5 separate regions of the Homo sapiens genome follow, and all the other regions are linked to region 1. The links are contacts of gene promoters, found by promoter capture Hi-C in blood cells and fetal thymus (Javierre and others, 2016). All regions are on one chromosome and are shown on one strand. Each heading gives the region's core, a stretch centred on a gene start or on the middle of the fragment in contact. The rest is flanking DNA. Distances are from core to core; before and after follow the strand shown. Region 1 holds the start of MAN1A2 (mannosidase alpha class 1A member 2). Region 2 overlaps CD58 (CD58 molecule). Region 3 overlaps GDAP2 (ganglioside induced differentiation associated protein 2). Region 4 overlaps CD2 (CD2 molecule). Region 5 overlaps GDAP2 (ganglioside induced differentiation associated protein 2).

Region 1 (3,584 bases), core at 462-2,961:
AAGTTTCACAAAAATAAATCTTGTCTACAAGCCTCACAAAGTGCAATAACTTAGGATTCAATACCTTTTAACTTAACTGATTTCATATACAGCACCAACACACATCCCCAAAAAAAGAACAAAAATCAGGATATTTTCACGTTAAGAAATGACAGGTATATTCTGCCCACGTTTGTCATCCTAAAAAGCTGACTCACTACTAAGCTTCAACTACAAGCCAGAAAACGAGAGCCCTCTGGGAGAGCACACCCAAAAGAGCTGTCAAGGTTCGATGCTTTGATTTCACATGGTGGCACAATGACTGACTCCAACACGTTATTAATAAATGCAGGCACAGCTTATGTCACCATTTCTTTAGGTTAAGTTTTCATACCTCCCTTCCCAGATGTCCACATTAGACACAACTCTGAACGCAAATGTTTTTCTTATATAAAACCGAAGAGAAGAACGACTTAGGTAGGACTCCAGTCCTACCAGTCTATGGACTCTACCATAGACTGGAGGTAGAGTCCCTCCAGTCTATGGTTTTATTCAGCCAGTCTTGAAGTAACAATACAATATTTATGACTCGAAAAATTACATTTTACTGCAAGAAAAAAAAAAGACAGATTCGATCCAATCACCGTACCTTGCTCTGCCAAATGTTAGTACCAGAACTTCTGAAATAAACAAACCTGTGTCTATGTTCATCGGGTCCATGGATCAGGAAGACTCCGGGGTTTTTAGCCCCTTTACCGGCATCTACATGTGGAATTAACACATCTTCTAAACCCAAATCAAAGCGTTTGTGTTTTGAAGAGTCTGGAAGGAAAAAGAATGCCCCAAAACACAGAGTGATGAAGGCACTAAGAATAAGGAGAAGAATAAACTTCTCAGAAAGTCTCAAGGTAGCCCTGTGATGTGGGAAGGAAGGCGGCCCCAGGTTCAGAGGTGGTATCCTACGTCCAGAGAGGGGCAGCAGGGCTGGGGTAGTCATCGTTTACGCTCTTGGAGAGAATACTTTAGAAAGTTCTCATCTTATGTCAAATGTAGAATACATTGAACTGTCTTCAAAATCTTGGCCAAAATGGGAAAACTCAATTTTGCTCCTCTTAAAGGACTGTTGTGCTTTTTAAGAGGGCACGTCATTCACGCCCATCCATTCCCACTCAGAAACGTGTGTGACCTCCCCCAAACGATCACAAGTTTAGGTCCTGCGATATCCTCTTCAACATCTGTACTTCATCGGATTATTACAAGCCTCCTCTTCATTCCTAGGGGTAGATCAGGCAAGCCACACTGCAGAAAAGCTGCAAGGTGGGTTCTTCCATTCCTGCACCTCAGTGAGATGCTCAAACGTAGTCTTCCGCCCCGAAAGGGAGACTGGCGACATCCGAGGAGTTGTAGAAGGTTCACTTGATCTCCTTCGACGCTTCTATTCCAGAATCTCTTAACCTTAGCGGTGGAAAAAATAAGGGTCTCCCACGGACGTCTGCAAACAGGGAGGAAGGTCTCCCACTTCGCTGGGAAGCCGAAGCAGCGGCGCTGGGCGAAGTAGCAGGAAGGAGTTCTCGGCCGCCCGCGCTTCCCGGCGCTGCCTGGCAGGAACCTGGCGCCCGGCTGAGTCCCGCTGCTGCCCACTCGACGGCTGGCGCGAAGGGCAATAGCGTCCGAAACACCTGAGTCCGGCCAGCCGCCGCGGCCGCCGCCGCTGTTGCTACCGCACGGGTCTGTCAGGGAGCGGAACTTCCTCCTCCGGCGGCCACTGAGAAGCCCCGGCGTGTCCTGGGGGAGGGGAGGCGCGGCGGCCGCCCCCGCCGAGCTCCTCCTCCTCCTCCTCCTCCTCTTCCTCCTCCTCCTCCTCCTCTCCGCGGCCGGTTCAGTGAACCCCGGCGCCTGCTCCCCGAGCTAGGCCGCCGGCCGCAGTGGCCGAGCCCTCGCGCCTAAGAAGCCGAGCCGGGGCCCACGCTCCGAGAGCCCGGGGTAGGCGCCGGCTCATTCCTCACTCAGCCCTGGAGCGGCGGGAGGGCCTGGGCGCGCGGGAGCAGCCGCGCCTCGGGCGGGCAGAGGTCGGCCGCGTCTCCTTCCTGCCCGGCCGCGGGGGCCTCCTCCGCGCCGCCTCCGGTGGCTCGCAGCTGCTGGCTCTGGCGGCGGCTGCCAGAGAGGCAGCGCGCCCACGCCGCTCGGGGCTGCGGCCCGGTCCCCGTACCCTGCCTCCCCAGGCCTGGTGAGCGCAGCAGCTGCTGGGCCGACACCCGTTGGGCTCACGCCGGAGAGGAACCGGAGGGCGGGGGCGATGGGACCCGGGCCGGCCTACCGGCCCCGGCTCGCGAGTGGGCGTCCCCGGGCGGCGGAGTGTGAGGTGCGCGCGCACGCTCCCGGCTCCGCTGCCGCCGCCCCTCCCCCACCCAGCCTGGCTGCCCGGGCTCCGGCCTCGCGCCGCTGCCGGCTCCAGCAGCCCGAAAGCGTACTGCTGCCGCCGCCGTCTGAGCGCGAAAGAAGAGAAGGTCGCCGATCTGCGCTGCCACGAGAACTTCACCGGTGCCCAGGGCCTTGCCACCGCCAGTTCGTGGGGTTGACCCAGCGTTTGGGCGAGAGGGAGCGAGGGGTTGGGTCGCGAAGGTTTCGCTGAAATGTAGTGTCACCGGAGTTAATGGCTTCTGATGGCTTAGGTTAACGTTTACTGTGATTCTTTGGAAGTCTTGTCTTCAGCGATAGACCGTCAGGCCCGAGGATTCAGCAACAGGGTCTCAAACTTCCACGCAGCAGCCCATGCTCACGTTATTGGGCCCCCGAGGCTCGATTAATAGAGCACCAACATGTGCCATGTTACGTTTTTAAAATAAAGTGGTGACCCTGCTCCTTCAGCTGGGCTTCCTTTCAGAGGAATCTAGGTACCCCCGATATGACAGGCGTCTCTTCATTGTTCAGTTTCTGGGGCACGTTCTATCATCTTCACACACCTCATCAACCCCCTTCCCATAAAAGAGAAAATGGATGAATAAGGAGGTGCTGAAACCCAAAAAGGCGACAATATTGTTTACGTTCAGGCTTAAAAACAATCTGAATCAATTCTGTTCTCCGTAGTATTGAGGAGAGCCATGTTGTGATTAAGTGCAAAAGATTTCCTTGCAAGATACATAGACTCTTGCATCCGATTTACTTGCAGGTTGTTTTTGTTCTAATATTGTCATTCCCTGTACACATCCTTTACTGATGACTGGGAATTGGAGAGGAGGCCCTTAAATGTCAGGAGAGTAAGTCAGCCTTAGCTTAAAAATCAAGCAGAAAAGTCTCATGTTCATTGGCACACTTGTAACTACATTCCAGTCTCCCAGTCTGCATTATTTCTAGAAGCTCTGCATATCTAACTGCCTACCACATGACAAAAGTCATTGTCATTGATCCTGCTTCACCAAATAAAAAGTAAAAATATTGAGGGCCACCTCTCACCAGTTCACCCAGGGAGACTGGTAAGCAAGGAGTGCCCGGTCCCTAGTGAGATTTATGTTGAACATTTGTGAAGAGTAGATATAAGAAACTTTTAGCCTTCCCAATATGTCTTTATAAAATGTGCCAAATTTAAGAATAAGTCTCTAATGTTG
Region 2 (4,035 bases), core at 186-2,685, 810 kb after region 1:
CCCAAATCTCACCTTGAATTGTAATAATCCCCGTGTGTCAAGGGCAGGGCCAGGTGGAGATAATTGAATCATGAGGGCAGTTTCCTCTATACTGTTCTTGTGATAGTGAATAAGTCTCACAAGATCTGATGGTTTCATAAAGGGGAGTTCCCCTGCACACGCTCTCTCTTGCCTGCCACCATTAAGACATGACTTTGCTTCTCCTTTGCCTTCTGCCATGATTGTGAGGTTTCCCTGGCCATGTGGAACTGTGAGTCCATTGAGCCTCTTTCCTTGATAAATTACCCAGTCTCATGTATGTCATTATTAGCAGTGCGAGAATGGACTAATACACCCCATCTCTACAAAAAGTTAGCCAGGTGTGGTGGTGCACGCCTGTAGTCCCAGCTACTCAGGAGGCTGAGATGAGCCTGGCAATTGCTTGAGTCTGGGAATTTGAGGCTGCAGTGAGCCATGATGACACAACTGCATTCCAGCCTGGGTAACAGAGCAAAAAAATAAAAAATAAAAAGGTAGGAACTATTTTATTATTAACAGAGTCTGTCTTATTCTGCTGTTGTTGACATTTTACAGATCCTTTATTGCCAACTATCTGCATAACTAGATTTTAAGTTCCTTGTATGCAGAAGTCATGTATTATTTTTTAAAATTTTCCTTATATTGATCTGTTTTTTTTTAATAGTAAAGATTGTTGAATCTGAACATTAGATGACAATGTATTTGTCCAGCATTTCTCCATTTGAAATTATCTCACATTATTATGTGAGACTTGTTCATGTGCTTTGCTGGAGTTGAGACTTAGACAGTCTGTGTTTTTTTATTTAGCAAAGATAATCCAAGTTAAAATAGTGTTGTGTGTTCCTATAGGAAAACTAGGCCCAGTGTTATAACAGAGTGTAAGTAATAATAGCCACTAGGAGGTAAGTACCTGCTCTGTGCCAGGAGCTATGCTTCAGATTTGAGATGTTTTTATTTAATTGTCACACTGATTTTATTACATAGGGAACATTTAATAGGAGAACAAAGCTTAGGTAGGTTCAGTAATGTGTCCAAGTTCACACAGCAAATAAGTGGCAGAGTGAACTTGAACTTTGATTCTCTCTGAATCAGAACCTATTCCTTTATATGCTCTGTTGTATCCCTAGCCTGAGATCCACTAAGCAACTTTTTGAAGATGAGTACTACTGATTTCTTATATCCAACATGTATACATTGTCCAATGAAATTCTGCTAAAACATGGGAAATATAGGTCAGCACAATTACCAGTCATGCAAAATTGTATTTAATATCATAATTTGTAATGGTGAGGGGTGCTTCTTTGGGACATAGAATTTACAATGGCAATTTATTGACATATTTATTATTAACATTATTATATTTACATTCTCTAGGTACCCACATTTCACTCCTAGACACTTTTGCATAATCTCAATAACATCATAACATCTATAAATATTAACACTAATCCTGTAACATCACCTAACTTTTACCCGTATTCAGATTTCCCCACTTGTCACAAGAGTGTCTTTTGTTAAAAAACCCGGATCTAATCAAGTTTCACTCATTGTATTCGTTGCTATGTTTTTTTGTTTTAATTTTGATGGGCATCTTTCAGAAGTTTTAAAATAGTCTTAGAACCTCTTTTTAAGAACCAGATTTGAATAATTTATTTTATTGACCTCCTTGTCACTCTAACATTTCTTTAGTAAATACAGGCTTTGAGGGTAGGTATTGGTTTCTCTGTTTAAAAGTAGAAACTTTGCATAAATCAGCCCTTATATGTGTAAGTTTTCTGCCTTTTGGTTTCTTCTCATGCTGTTTCTGCACAAGTGCCTAAGCTTTTTTGAAGCTTTACTTGAGGGGTGACCAGAAGGTTTTACTTAAGGACACAGACCCTTAAATTCTGCAATGACAAATCTCAACTTCCATCTCAGGGTTGTAAGTGAAACCAGGATGCAGCCGTTTCTCTTTTCTCAGATAAGTTCAGGTTTGAATATAAAGTGTGACTATAAGATACAGAGACTGTCCCTAGAAAAGGAGGGGAAAACATTTTAGCAGTTCCTCTTTGGAGATAACTTTCAGTGCCTGCCCATCAGCCTCCAAGGAAAATGCTTTTTGGTTACTTTATAGGTTCTAGTGAACTTTGCTTACTTTACAATGTTCCCCAAAATGTCTGTTGAGATTAGTGCCTGAATTTCCACTGGGCTGACCAGTCTGTAGTTTCTTGAACATTTTCTTCCTATGCCAGTTAAAAATTAGAAGAAAATTGAAGTTTAACATACACATTCAGAAAAAAATAAAAAATCAGATTAATAAGAAACTAATGAGGCTGTGCCATTGTAAACTACTTGCAATAGAGTTTCCCAACGATGAACTGAGTATCTAGAAAATAACAAGGATTCTCAAGGAATTTTAGTGAAATGATCAGTACTGTATTGAAATACCTTGAATCAGACTTTGGAGAATAGATTTAAAAACACTCACAGCCTTAACCGATCTAGTAAGAACCTTATTCCCTAAAGCATACTGTGGATCTCAGCTGTATCCTATCTAAGGTGAGAACAGTCAAAGACAAATGTGGCCTTTGAGAAAGGTGGGATGTGAGTGTCTTGAAACAACAGGCTAAAGAAGTGCTCTCAAATAGAAGTATAATATGGAACATGTGAAATTAATTTTAATAATATATTTTAGTTAACCTAATATATCCATAATATTTTCATTTCGACATGTATTAGGTTGGTGCAAAAGTTATTGTGGTTTTTGCTATTTTTTTTTAATGGCAAAAACCGGCAATTACTTTTGCACTAACCTAGTAGTTACTACAAAAAAATATTAACAAGAGATTTTATGTTCCACTTTTTAATACCAGGTCTTCAGATTCTGGTGTGTATTTGATACTCAGAACACATCTCCATTTGAACTAACCATATTTCAGGTTCTCACTAGCCACTTGTAGCTGGTAGCTACTTTGATGGATTGCATAGGTCTAAAGGGAAACATCTTGAGAAAGAAGAAATAGGTTAAGTGCAAGAACAAGAATTAAAAAGGAAACTATTTTAGCATCATATTAGAAGGAAAGTACAGAAAGAAGTTGATTTAGAGAACCAACATCTTAATTCTTGATGAACTTATCGAGGAGGCAGATTGACAGCTGAGAGCAAGGTCCGGGAACCTTGCTCTGGCCTTGGGGACCGAGGGTTTGTAACCGTTGGGAGACAGGTGGCTGCAGTTTCAGTATGAAGTAGATGAGGGCAGGGAAACTGGTGGTGGTGTGGCTGAAATCAGTAAATCTCTGTCTTAAGGAAATAAGAGAAGTCACTAACTGGGACCGGCTAAGGGTGGAATCGATCAGGAAAAAAGAGGAATGGCCCCAACCAAGGCATCTGATGTTCTGGCCAACAGTGCAGGCTCTGGGGCCGACTGCCTGTGTCTGGACACCAGCTCTGCCCCTTGCTAGCTGAGTGAATGCAGTCAGCTGACCCTCTCAGTCCATTTCTTCATCTGTAGCCTGGTGCTTCGGAATCTTTGACCTTCTCTATCAACCAAGTGTCCAGCGGAGCAAACCACCTTACTTTGATAGGCGTGTTCTCAAGAAATAACTCCTTTCTCACTCTCACCCCAGATGTTCTTAGGCTCGCTCCCCTGCTTTTCTGGACTCTGCTCAGATGCCAACTTATGACTGCCCCCCATGCCATCCAACTCCTTTCCTTACCAGTACTCCTCAGCCCCCACACTCTGCTTTATTTTTCTCTATAGCACTTAACATCATCCAACATCATCCAAATAAAAGATATTTACTTTTTCATTTATTATGTTCTTCCCTCCACTGAAAAATAGACTCCAAGAGGGCTGGGATTTTGTCTGTTTTGTTCATTGCTATATCCTGCCTGCTTATTTCAGTGTCTGGCACATAGGCAGGACTCCATGAACATTTGATGAACAAATAAATGAATAATAAGAACTACCTCAGAGTTGAGTTGAGGATTAAATGAGTTAATACACAAACAGCTCTTGGAACAAGTGCTTGTCACATA
Region 3 (3,758 bases), core at 115-2,614, 520 kb before region 1:
TGACATATTTTGTACGATTATTTATCCATGATTATTATATTTACTCATAAAATAATAGAAGTTTGTTTATTTGGAATAAGAAAGTACTCTATATAGGATATTTAGGAAATATCCTGTAGGAAACCCAGAAACTATTTTGAGTTCATATTTTCCTTTTAGCTTTGTTTTGATTTTTGGATTGGAACAAAAGATTGCATGTCTTCCTTTAAACAAAACAAAACACTATAGCAAAAAGTGAGGTGCTGTTTATAAGAAATGTAATAGAAAACATGAAATATTCTTTGAATAATGAAGTTTAGAAAAAAAGGAGGGTATTGTCTATTGAGTGAGAAGAGTAACAGTCTTTTTGCTTTTACTCTTTCTTCCCAACTGGTGATTTTTTTAAAATAATGACTAAATAATCAGACTTACACAATCTATAGTGGTAATGGCAGAGACTTAATTAGAATAAAGAAGAAACCTGATGAAGATTGCAATCATGAGTTGTTGCATGGTCCTTAGAAACCAGAACAGGACCAGTGTCTCAGCAGTGATTCTAACCTTTTAAAAATCATGAACCCTTTAAGAATCTGATGTAAACTATAAACTTCTCCCCACAAATATGTTCATAGAGATTTTGTCAACCAAAGTCTATCTTTAGATCTCAAGTTGTTAATCATCAATCAAGGTTTAAACATTTTAGAGTTTATACTAATTCTGTGTTCACACTATGGACAAATCAACTTTAGATAGATTAAGGACTTAAATTTTTAAAAATTCTGAAACCTGTGGAAGAAGTTAAGCTAGTATCCTTCAAACCTTAGAGAAAGGGAAGATTTTTTTAAAGACATGAAAAGCATTTACCACCAAAGAAAAAATAGTTTTGACTATATTAAAATTAAGAACTTTTGAAAGTAGAGCCAAGCTTAAACAAAGTAAAAAGCAAGTTACGGAATGGGGGCAGATATTCACAAAACACACAACAAATGATCAGCATCAAGAATGTGTAAAGAACTACAACTTGGTGAGAAACAATCAAATAACCCAATAAAAAATGGAAAAATGATAGGAACAGGCATCTCATAGAATCAAGTCAACATGAGCAGAATCTCAACCTCATTACTGACCAGAGAAATGCTTTACCATTTCTAACCTATCCAACTGGCAAACACTAAAACATCTAATAGTAGCAAGTGTTGGTGAGGACAGGGATTCACAGTCTCATATGCTTCTTATAGAAGTATAATTTGGTGCAATGCTTTGGAAAAGAGGTTTGTCCTTATCTCCTAAAATTAAACATTCCCTGTAACCTAGCACTTTCACTCATTGGTACCTACTCAAGAGCAATCATGCACATGTATACCAGGAGACACGCAAAACAAGTTGATTGTAGCCCTCTTCACAATAGCAAAACCCTGGAAACAGCCCAAGTGCCCATCAGTGAGAGAGTGAATGAAAAAAATCTATAGTTTTTATCTAGTATGAATACATGATATATACAGATTAAGTATGCCATATCCAAAATTCTTGGGACCAGAAGTGTTTCAGATTTCTGATTTGTTTGGATTTTGAAATATTTGTATCGTACTTACCAGTTGAACATCCCAAATCCCAAAAATCCGAAATGTTCCAGTGAGCATTTTTGTTTTAATTGTTATGTTGGCACTCAGAAAGTTTTGGATTTTGGAGCATTTCAGATTTTGTATTTTTGGATTTGGGATGCTCAACCTGTGATTGTCCAAATCAATCAACGACATTGAAATCCAGTGATACGGATGAATGTTAGCAATATGATAAGTCAAAAATGTAAGACCCAAGAGATTACATACAGCATGATAAGCTTTTTTAAATAGTTAGAAACAAACAAAAAATAATGTCTTACATTGACTACATGTAGATGAATTTAAAACAATATAAAAAGGAAAGCAATAAATGATTAACCTGGAATTCCAGATAACGGTGGGAAGTAGCACATGGTTAGATGAAGGTTATTGTGAAAGTGCTAATTTTTGTTATAGTGGTAGATTTTAGGGTGCTTATTACTTCATTAAAGATAAATAATTATATAACTAGTCTTCTAAGTGGACCATGCATATACCAGTTATGCGAGTGTTTTCAATTAAAGATGATGTATTCCATTTTGTACACCTGAGTTCCAGTTAAAAAAAATTTTTTTCAGAGTTCATTGAATATAGATAGATATAGATATAGATATAGAGATTGAGTGTCAGGAACTACCCTAGGAATTGGCTAGAAATGAGAGACAAATATGACATATTGTCTATCTGGTGGTCTAATGTAATAGAAATAGCCTTTTCAATAAGTGTGTAAAATCTTGCACTGAACATGGTAGAAGTCTTTGGGGATACAAAGAAGGGAGCATTTGTTTCTACGACATGTCTAGAATTTGCCTCCACTCTGCTCCTTCTCACCCCACCTCCTTCCCCACCACCAGTCCCCTTCTCAGCATACATATTTGATTGATAGAGTATTTAGACTTCTGGTTACCTGTCTTGTTCTTATTACAAAGTTAATTTTCTTCGTACTGTAATATGTCTGTCTCACATATGCAACCTTAAACTCAAGAGCCTTTTTTAATTCATCTCAGGCCCCAAAATACCTTACATAATACTCATGTTTATTATTTCATTTAGCAAAGAATTTAGTACCTACTATGATGCAAACACTGCATTTATTCAATAAATCTTTGAAAAATGAGCCAATGGATACATGAACAGAGTATAGAAGTTAATAGGTATTAATTGAATCCTGTTATATGCTTTGTGCTAGATACTGTGGTGCCCATATGATGTAATATACATTTTGCTGTTTAGTCTCATTATAAACAATTAGTATATAATAGAATGATTTAAAAAACATAATAAACTCTATACTTTTATTCTTCACTGCCACATTTTTGATGTCATAATTTACGTTTTTATATTATTTTTGTCTCTTAACAAATTATTGTTGCTATTATTAATAGTTTTGTCTTTTAACCTTCATACTAAAGATATAAGACAGTATGTTAAGTGAAATAAGTCAAGCACAGAAAAACAAATATAGCATGATCTCACTTATATGTAGAACCTAAAAAAACTGAACTCAGAAAAACAGAGAATAAAGTGGTTATCAAATGCTGGTGGTATTGGGGTGGGATTGGGGAGATGTTGGTCAAAGAATACAAAATTTCAGTTAGACGAGAGGAATAAGAGATTTATTATATAATACGGTGACTGTAGTTAATAAGAATGTGTTGTATACCCGAAAATTGATAAAAGAATACATTTTAACTGTTCTCACCAAAAAAAAATGATAAATATGTGAGATAATGGATATGTTCATTAGCTTGATTCAGCCATTTTACAATGTATCCGTATATCAATACATTACATACATTATTTGTCAAAGAAAATAATTTTTTAAGTAAAGAAATAGAATTTTGATTTAGTGTAAATAGGAAATGACTGTATGAAAATATGGAATAGTGCATATGATTTAGGGAGAACTACAATAAACATAGGCATTTTCTTGACTTTGAAATTATATTTTGAAACAAAATTAAAAGCTACTGTCTTTGACTTTTCAATTTGCATAGATTGGTAAATCACAAATTTGAGAAGGCAGTCTATAGAACTAATGCAGTAACACTGTGTTTTTTACAAGCAGTAACAATATCTGTGAAACTAACAGGCATGTCACTTGTTGATTTCAGTCTGTATGTGACAGACTTCCCATTAAATATTTTCAGTTGTGCAATTGTACTTTATAGCTGAAAG
Region 4 (3,707 bases), core at 141-2,640, 600 kb after region 1:
AGCTCTACAAGCTATTCCTACGCAGCTGGCCTGACTACTTCTCAGAATGTCCATGCTCTGGGGCAGGTTCAGTGGGATGTCACACAGTGTCAGACAGGTGGGTGACAGCAGCACAAATCTTAAGCAAGGTTCGTGTTTCCCACCTAATGGTGGTGCAGGGCAGAGAATCTGTCTTATCTTCCCTGGATAAGGAGGACAAGCATGTTGTGTATGTTCACTTCCCTTCCTTTCATCAGGACTGGGCTCACCCATTGAATCAATTGGCTAATGATAGCTTCAATAAAGTGCTGGCAGCGATATTGAGAAATGGTCATTGTACTCAAAAAGCTTCTTTACTATGCATTTCATCAATTCTAAAATGCACTAACATAAAATAACATTTTTTCACATTTTAATATCTCAGGAATGGGATTGTGACTGAAAGTTGACTGTATCTTAGTATTTGTTACAATGCAACTGAGAAGTGTTCTTCTCTTTCTTAGTGGCATGTAAAAGAATGATGCCACTTAAAATCAATGCCATCTTCAAATTAGTTAAATATAGTTGTTAAAAAAGAAAAAGAAATACAAAAAGTTGAAAACAGTAGTTGAAAAATCAATGACATCTTCAAATCAGTTAAATACAGTAGTTGAAAAAGAAACTACATGTTTGTGTAAACAGAAAGCCAAATGAGCCTTGCTCATGCTGTTGCCTCTACATGGGTAATTCTGTACCTCTGCTTCACCAGTTCAATTAATCTATTACAACGCAACCCAAACGTCCCTCCTCTAGGAAGCCCTCTTTGTCACCCCAGTCTTACCACTCAGTCTGGGTTCAAAGTCCTTCCTCTGGGTTCATGCACTTGCCTCTGACCTATATTTATCATACTGCATTGCATTTGTCCCATGGTTGGTCCGTTTCTTGCCTACCAGGTGGTGAGCTCCTTGAAAGCAGAGATGCAATTGTACACCTCTGTTTTCCTAGTGCCTAGCACAGAGCCTGACACATAGTAGAAGTTCAATAAATGTTCGTTGAATGAATGAACGATGAAGGATTGAATAGGGTGTATGTGTTTTGTACCATATGTAATGCCACAGGAGTTCAGAAGAAAGGCAGAGCCCAGGGCTGAATAGACCAGGGAAGATTTTCTTAAGGGAATGGCGTATGAGCTGTTCTGGTGAGATAGCCAATGAAATCACTCATGGGTATCATGAAGAATGAGAAAGGGGCAGAGCTAGGACCCTCATCTCTCTCTCTCTCTCTCTCTCTCTCTCCTTTTTTTTTTTAGACGGAGTTTTGCTCTTTTGCCCAGGCTAGAGCGAAGTGACACGATCTCACCTCACTGCAACCTCCACACCCCAGGGTTCAAGCAATTATTCTGCCTCAACCTCCCGAGTAGCTGGGGTTATAGGTGCGTGCCACGATGCCCGGCTAATTTTTTTTTTTTTTTTTTTAAGTAGAGAAGGGGTTTCACCATGTTGGCCAGGCTGGTCTCAAACTCCTGACCTCAGGTGATCTACCTGCTTTGGCCTCCCAAAGTGTTAGGATTACTGGCACGAGCCACCATGCCCGGCCAGAGCCCTCATCTCTCTACTGGGTAGATCCTGTGGCAATTGTTACCTAGCTGGATTTTGTGTTTGAATTTTGGGAGGCGATGAGGTTTCATTCATCATTGCCCTTAGTAATTAACTCTGGTTGCTGGAAAAATAGACTCTCAGATTCAGAGGAAAAAGTAGTTCAATCCTCAGTGAGCTGTCACAGGAAGTCCTGAATGTACTTAGTTTTTGTGGTTTAGCCCTCAGAGCTTCCTGCCAGAGTGTAACAAGGTTTAGCAAGTCTAAGAAGCCAAGGAGAAGGCGGGCAGACAGGACCACAGACAAGGCACCAGCATTTCAAAGCAGGTGCCTTCTCACCACCTATTGTTTTAGAACTCTAACTGAAAACTATTTTTTTCTCCCCACTTCCCTCAAAGTACAGCTGCATGACTGCTAGCTGGGGATGGGGTCTGACCTTTTAATCATAGTCATTTAAGACACTTAAGATTTGATTCAACTGAGTTGTCTCTTAGCCTATCTTTTTGTATGTCATCTGATGAGTTCATGACACCTCCAGTATCCATAGATTCCCTTGTTTTGAAGGATGACAGTACAGGTCATTATGACCGTGTCTGAACAGTCAAGAAAGTAAGACCTAAAATGTTAAGTTTTCTGGTGACTCCTGTTAACGTTTGTGCATGGAGGCTTTAATTCATTATGGAAATCTACAAATAGGTTGTTGGACCCAGCTTTGCAGCTGAGACCTGGGGAGCATGTTCGGGTCATTCTGGTGAGGACTAAGGAGGTCTCAGCCGGATTGAGTTGACTGAATTTGATCCTGCTGTCACACCAGCGAGGCTCTTTCTTATTCGGCAGCTTCCTCTCCTCGACACTGGGATCCTTCACACAATGAGCAGACACGGGTCTAGTCAAAGCTTTTATTTCACTTTTACTCACAGGATGGTGGGCAAGTGTCCACCAGGGCACATAAGAAACTCCAGAGTCTCTTAAGCAGATAGGCTGCTTGTAGTGAGACCCAGGCACACCAATCACTTGATTTATCGCATCTACACATGACCTGAGAGGGGACAAGAAATCTCTAAGATTTCTGTGCTCGGTCCTCTACCATTCTTGCAATCACACTTATATTGCTTCTCCTTACTGGTGTGATGGAGCTCTCTGAGGAGACCAAAAACTCCAGATGTTGACCACATGGCTGAGTTCGAAGATGCAGAGGTGGCTGTGGCCCACAGCCTCAGGAGGTGACAATGTTCTGCACACAGAAAACACCTCATGGAAGTACGGATATGCACATCAGGAGGGCAGAAATCCACAGTGCTTTTTATTGAAAAAGACAGTTTCTATCTTTTTTAATTAGAGGAAGGGGACAATGAGTTTTCTGCTGCCCCATGGGGAGGTTTTGGCTGAACTCGAGGTCTGGGGAGGGGCGGGCCTTTCTGCTGGTGAACTTGTGTGCCCGACGGAGCAGGAGGCCTCTTCTGAGGCTGGTGCTGAACACGGTGTCCAGGAGGCGGGGGACGATGACTAGGTGCCTGGGAACGATGACCAGGTGGTGGAGGAGGATGTTGGGAAGTTGCTGGATTCTGAGGGGTTGAAGCTGGAATTTGGTGGGGCTTCCGGCCCCTTTCTTCAGTAGCTACTCTGTGGGCTCTTGTCTCCAGCTCCTCATCTGCAACAACAAAACCTCAATAGAGTTCATCTTGGCCAGGTGAAATCAATGTAAATATTGAGTACCTTTTATATGCAAGGCGCCATGCTAGCTGCTTTGGGGGATGCAATGAGGAAGCAGAAGTTGCCCCTACTATCTGAGAACTCTAAGCTTGTAGGAGAGAAAGAAGTGCTCACCATAAGGTAGAGTGAAAGCCTAGGACAAGAGAACTCAAGGAATCAGCAGGAAGAAGACACATGGGTGGAGGGCTTTGTGCCTGGGGCTCCCATGATCAGAGAGAGCACGCAGACCTGGAACCCTACCTCTGTGCTGACCTAGAAATTGTTCCCTGAGAGCAAGAACCTCATGGTTAGAGCGCATGGGAAGGGGTTATGAGCAGTCATGGAGGATATTAGTAACTACATTCCTTCTGAGGCATTTCTATGTTAGATCTGCCTTTCCCCCAATTCTACTGTCATGCAATCCACCTTCCGGCAAGAGGTTGGAACACATGCAAGGAACTT
Region 5 (4,112 bases), core at 1,338-3,837, 540 kb before region 1:
TTTAGAATAATCTTAACAGTCTGTAACAAATGCAGTCAGATTTCATGATATCATATTTGTATAACACTTGGCAGTTTAAATAGCCACATTCACACATGCTATTTGAATGTAAAATTCTGCATTTAGGTTTTCAAAAGACTGGGCTCAGTCAATATGAGCCAAATGCCTGTATGTCACATAAAAATATGGCATTCAGCTAAAGAGAGTCCATGATCTCACTGTATATATGCAGATTTAGACCACATCTTGAGTTTTATATATATTTCTGTGTGTCATATTGCATGAGACACTGACAAACAGGAGGACAAACAGTTTGAAACAGTAGTGGTGTTTCTTCTAAAGAAGAGCATGCTTTTAGCAAATATGATGTCCATCTTCAAATATCTGAAGGAATCTCATTTGGACTTATTCTGTGCTACATTTTTCAAGCAGCAGTTCTTTGGGATATTGTCATAAACTACGATGAGCATCTGGTGAAAGAACACTATGGACCCTTTGTCAAGAAAAATGTGCATAAATACAGAATTTGCATGTTATTTCAGGAAGTTTACAGATCCTCATCAGGATTGTAGATAAGAACTCCAACTGTACAAGGCAAGGTCTAAGACCAAGTTATAAGGAAGAAAATGTTGGTCCCACTTGAAGTAGTACTAACTGTAACAGCAAAGTATTTTAGCGAACTTCTTGTCACTAGGAACATTCATGCAGAGGTTACAGGACCATCTGTTGCAGCTGTTATAGAAAACACTTCTCATTTCAGAGACGAACTATACTAAATCATCTTTAAGAGCCCCTGTTATCTCTAGAATTTAAAGTCGAAGAGCTGAAAGCCTTATATCCACAAATACCAAAAAGATATTTGAATGTATAAGTTATTATTATGTAGCCTGGAGTTTAGGGTGAGTATCTGTTCAGTCTTAGTCTTATTTAATTATAACCTATTTTAAAAACCAATATTCTAACTGCTCAAGGATTTTATAGTAAATTTGTATATTTTATAATTAAGCTTATATACATTACATTAGACTGAGCTTGAGGGGCAGGGATCTTATCTTTTTATCTTGAATGCTTGACATATGGTACTTGCTCAAGAAATATATATTTTTAAAAGGGACAAGTAAATTCCACTTACTTTACTTAACAACCCTGTGTTTTAGGTAGTGTGGTGTCCGTTGTACAAATAAAAGGTCTCAGAAATTTCTCCTGTTATGAGGGTTATGCAGACTTGGAGCATATATCCAGACCTTCTGACTCCCAGGTCTAGTAACCTGTCTGTTATACTAGATGATTCATTATGCTTGAGTTAGAACTGCTTCAGTGGAAGACTACTATGTTATTACATGCCTATCTTCTAAATGGTACCTAACGAAAGCAAAATTCCTCCCTTGATATAATTGCTCCTGACAAGGCTTTTGGCTGGTCTCTGCATTCTCTGATTTTACTTAGTCCTTGTCATATCATCTCATAGCTTCTTTTATATATCTATTTTTTATTAAGGTAATCATAAGGATTCTATTTTAAAGAGGCAGCATTATTTTGTAGAAAAGGTTCTGAATAGGGGGTTAAGAAGACTGGTTTTTAGTTCTAATTCTACCAGTCCAACTCTAGCTCTGTGGCCCCAGACAAATCACTTGATACAGTACTATGAAAGAGGTCAACTTTGAGAGTAACAGCAGATAAAGATCAATAATGGGTATAAGGGACTTTGATGAAGCAGTTTCTAGAAATATAATTAGCAAAAAGGAAATGTACAGCTCTTAAAAAGTGGGCACATTTGACTTATTAGGCCTTAAATCTAGTGGCAAAACTGTAGCATTTCATTCAAACACTTACACAGAAGATGATGCCTTTTGCTTGAATACTTTATCAAGCATTTGGAAAACAAATGGCTTATACACTTTTGTAACATATATGGGCCAAGAACAAATCTAATGATATAACTCGAAGTCCTTAGTATCAAAAGCTTTCTTATTAAACTATTATCAAAATTTATTTCATTTGAAGCCTAAATAATATGTTTTTGATAGATATATTAAGACACGTGCTTTTTTTTTCTTAGTTCATGTGCAGTTTGTTTTTCTCCAGAAAAAGCCTAAAGAAATATCTGCATTGAAATAAATTTATCAGGTTATTTATTCATCCAACAAAAATTTAAGTGACTACTATGTGCTGTATACAAAATACTACAGTGGTGAGAAATAAGATGAAGGTGTTTGTTCTCGTGGTGTTTCCAGATGGGGAATTATAATGTCCTAGATGTCATTCTTACAAATTATAGGGTATTCACTAGGTATTTAAGCACAGGACATTGTGGTTGGTTGCAGAGTATAGTGCACAGATGAAACTTTGAAAGGAAGAGCGTGGCCTGGCCTTTAGTACTAAAACCTTAGAGTCATGACATTAGTCTTCTTCACTGCTTTTGCAGAGTTAATTTTCTAAATGAATTCCACTGAGAGAATTCAATTTGGTTGCTATTTGGTATTGTATTTTATCTTCCAAAGGAAATAATATAATTATATTCTGGGAAACTATTATGCATGAACATTACAACTTGGTGTCAAATAAATAGGAAACAGAAAATCTTTATTTATTTATTTATTTATTTATTTATTTTTTTGAGATAGAGTCATACACTGTCGCCCAGGCTGCAGTGCAGTGGGGCAAACACAGCTCAATGCAGCCTCAACCTCCTGGGCTCAAGTGATCCTCCCTTGTTAGCCCCCCAGGTAGCTAGGACTACAGGCATGCGTCACCATACCTAGCTAATTTTTTAAAAAAAATTTGGTAAACACAGGGTCTCGCTATGTTGCCCAAACTAGTCTTGAACTCAGGCTCAAGTAATCGTCTTGCCCTCACCTCCCAAAGTGCTGGGATTATAGCCATGAGCCTCCATGTCCTGCTGAAAATCTTTTTTTGAAAGTTCGTTTTTGAAAAAGCATTAAAGCAGAATAGAGGAAAAAATAAAAAGTAAATTTGTCATCTAACAGGAGGAGAGTTATGAGTGTTTGTTTAGTCCTTTAACAAATAGGTTTGCTCTGTTAGGTTCTTGAGATACAGTGTTGAACAAAGCAGGCAATATGTAACTGAGCCATAAATTGTTAATTCAGTTACTAGTTACTTTTGAATGATTGCATATCACATCCGTAAGGTGTGCTAGGCCCCAAATTAAAGTAATATTAATATAAAATATACTTGGTCTTCAAAAAGCTTAGTCTAGCTATAAAATGTGAGAAATTCTTAAAATGAAGGGTGTTCAAAAGATTCTAGGAGGGGCATAAAGAAGGGTGGAGATGGCTCTTGGCTAGGTCTTGAAAAATGAGTAGGAGTTCACCAAAAGAAGAGAATGGTGGATGAGTGGTACTCTAGTCAAAGGTAGGCACATGCAAGCAGAGGCAGGGCATCATAAAAGTAAGTGGTATGTTTTGAATACAGCAAAGTAGATTTGGCTAAAGCATAAGATGTGGGAGGAATAATTGAAAACAGGACTAAAGAGCTGAGTGGGGGAAAGTGGACAGTTGGCGTTGGAGTATAGAGAGTCATGCTAGGGTTTTTGAATCTTAACCTGTAAGTAGTGCAGAGCATCACCAGTGTTTATTAAAAAGGGTAACATGAGAAGATAACTCGGGTAACATGAGAAGATAACTCAGGCAACAGTGAGTATGTAGACTTGCGGAAAAAAGACGCAAGGAGAGCAGTTAAGAGCTTATTACCAAAGTCTGTGTGAGCCTTGAGAACCTGAAAGCAGCCAAAAGAAAGGAATAAATGTTAGAAATATTAGCAATAGAATTAAAAGTCATGGGAACTATTTGAAAATGCAGCATGAAGGAAGAGGTAAAGGAAGCATCAAAGACAATTCAGGATTCTAGCTTGGATGATTGGTTGGATGTTGATATGTAACCAAAATAAGGAATGTAGGTAAAAAGGACCAGGTTTGTTCGGAAAAAGATGGCGGTCAGGATTTGGACCTGTTGGGGTCAAATTTGGCTACACTGAATTTGAGGTCTCTGTGAGTTATCTAAGCAGATATACCTAATAGGCATCAGGTAATTTGGGTCTTTTCCTCAGAATAAAGAATATAAAGATTTGGGAGCCATCAGCATTTGAGGTAATAC

What was found. The method cuts DNA at HindIII sites, captures the fragments that hold promoters and counts their contacts. A CHiCAGO score of 5 or more calls a contact.
Region 2: a fragment that was not itself captured here is called in contact with the fragment with the promoter of MAN1A2 in region 1 in 1 of 17 cell types (activated CD4 T cells); the score reaches 5.5 in activated CD4 T cells.
Region 3: a contact is called between a fragment that was not itself captured here and the fragment with the promoter of MAN1A2 in region 1, in 5 of 17 cell types (naive B cells, total B cells, megakaryocytes and 2 more). The highest score is 8.4, in naive B cells.
Region 4: a contact is called between a fragment that was not itself captured here and the fragment with the promoter of MAN1A2 in region 1, in 1 of 17 cell types (non-activated CD4 T cells). The highest score is 5.0, in non-activated CD4 T cells.
Region 5: a fragment that was not itself captured here is called in contact with the fragment with the promoter of MAN1A2 in region 1 in 2 of 17 cell types (total B cells and naive B cells); the score reaches 6.8 in total B cells.

Annotation. Positions count from the first base shown.
Region 1 is chr1:117,365,576-117,369,159 of GRCh38, reverse strand. MAN1A2 (mannosidase alpha class 1A member 2) reads right to left here and starts at 1,711. Exons shown (of 13, transcript NM_006699.5): 1 at 675-1,711. The coding sequence starts at 976. RefSeq lists an enhancer at 646-785 and a silencer at 1,656-2,475. The HindIII fragment of the contact is 7,016 bases long and covers 207-3,584 here.
Region 2 is chr1:116,558,806-116,562,840 of GRCh38, reverse strand. The region is part of intron 1 of CD58 (CD58 molecule); the gene reads left to right. It overlaps LOC105378925 (a long non-coding RNA gene), which reads right to left. Exons shown (of 3, transcript XR_947739.2): 3 at 1,654-4,035. It overlaps MIR548AC (microRNA 548ac), which reads left to right and starts at 2,730; the gene lies at 2,730-2,817. RefSeq lists enhancers at 174-323, 2,923-3,162. The HindIII fragment of the contact is 813 bases long and covers 1,029-1,841 here.
Region 3 is chr1:117,888,849-117,892,606 of GRCh38, reverse strand. The region is part of intron 8 of GDAP2 (ganglioside induced differentiation associated protein 2); the gene reads left to right. Among named protein-coding and RNA genes, the nearest start is that of GDAP2, 39 kb to the left of the region's middle. The HindIII fragment of the contact is 915 bases long and covers 907-1,821 here.
Region 4 is chr1:116,767,961-116,771,667 of GRCh38, reverse strand. It overlaps CD2 (CD2 molecule), which reads right to left. Exons shown (of 5, transcript NM_001767.5): 5 at 2,439-3,204. The coding sequence ends at 2,885. Among named protein-coding and RNA genes, the nearest start is that of CD2, 15 kb to the right of the region's middle. RefSeq lists cis regulatory regions at 1,690-1,721, 1,796-1,818, 1,893-1,916, 1,984-2,004 and enhancers at 1,490-2,019, 1,352-2,451, 1,152-2,451, 952-2,451. The HindIII fragment of the contact is 2,122 bases long and covers 330-2,451 here.
Region 5 is chr1:117,907,330-117,911,441 of GRCh38, reverse strand. All of the region lies in intron 5 of GDAP2 (ganglioside induced differentiation associated protein 2), which reads left to right. Among named protein-coding and RNA genes, the nearest start is that of GDAP2, 20 kb to the left of the region's middle. The HindIII fragment of the contact is 1,244 bases long and covers 1,966-3,209 here.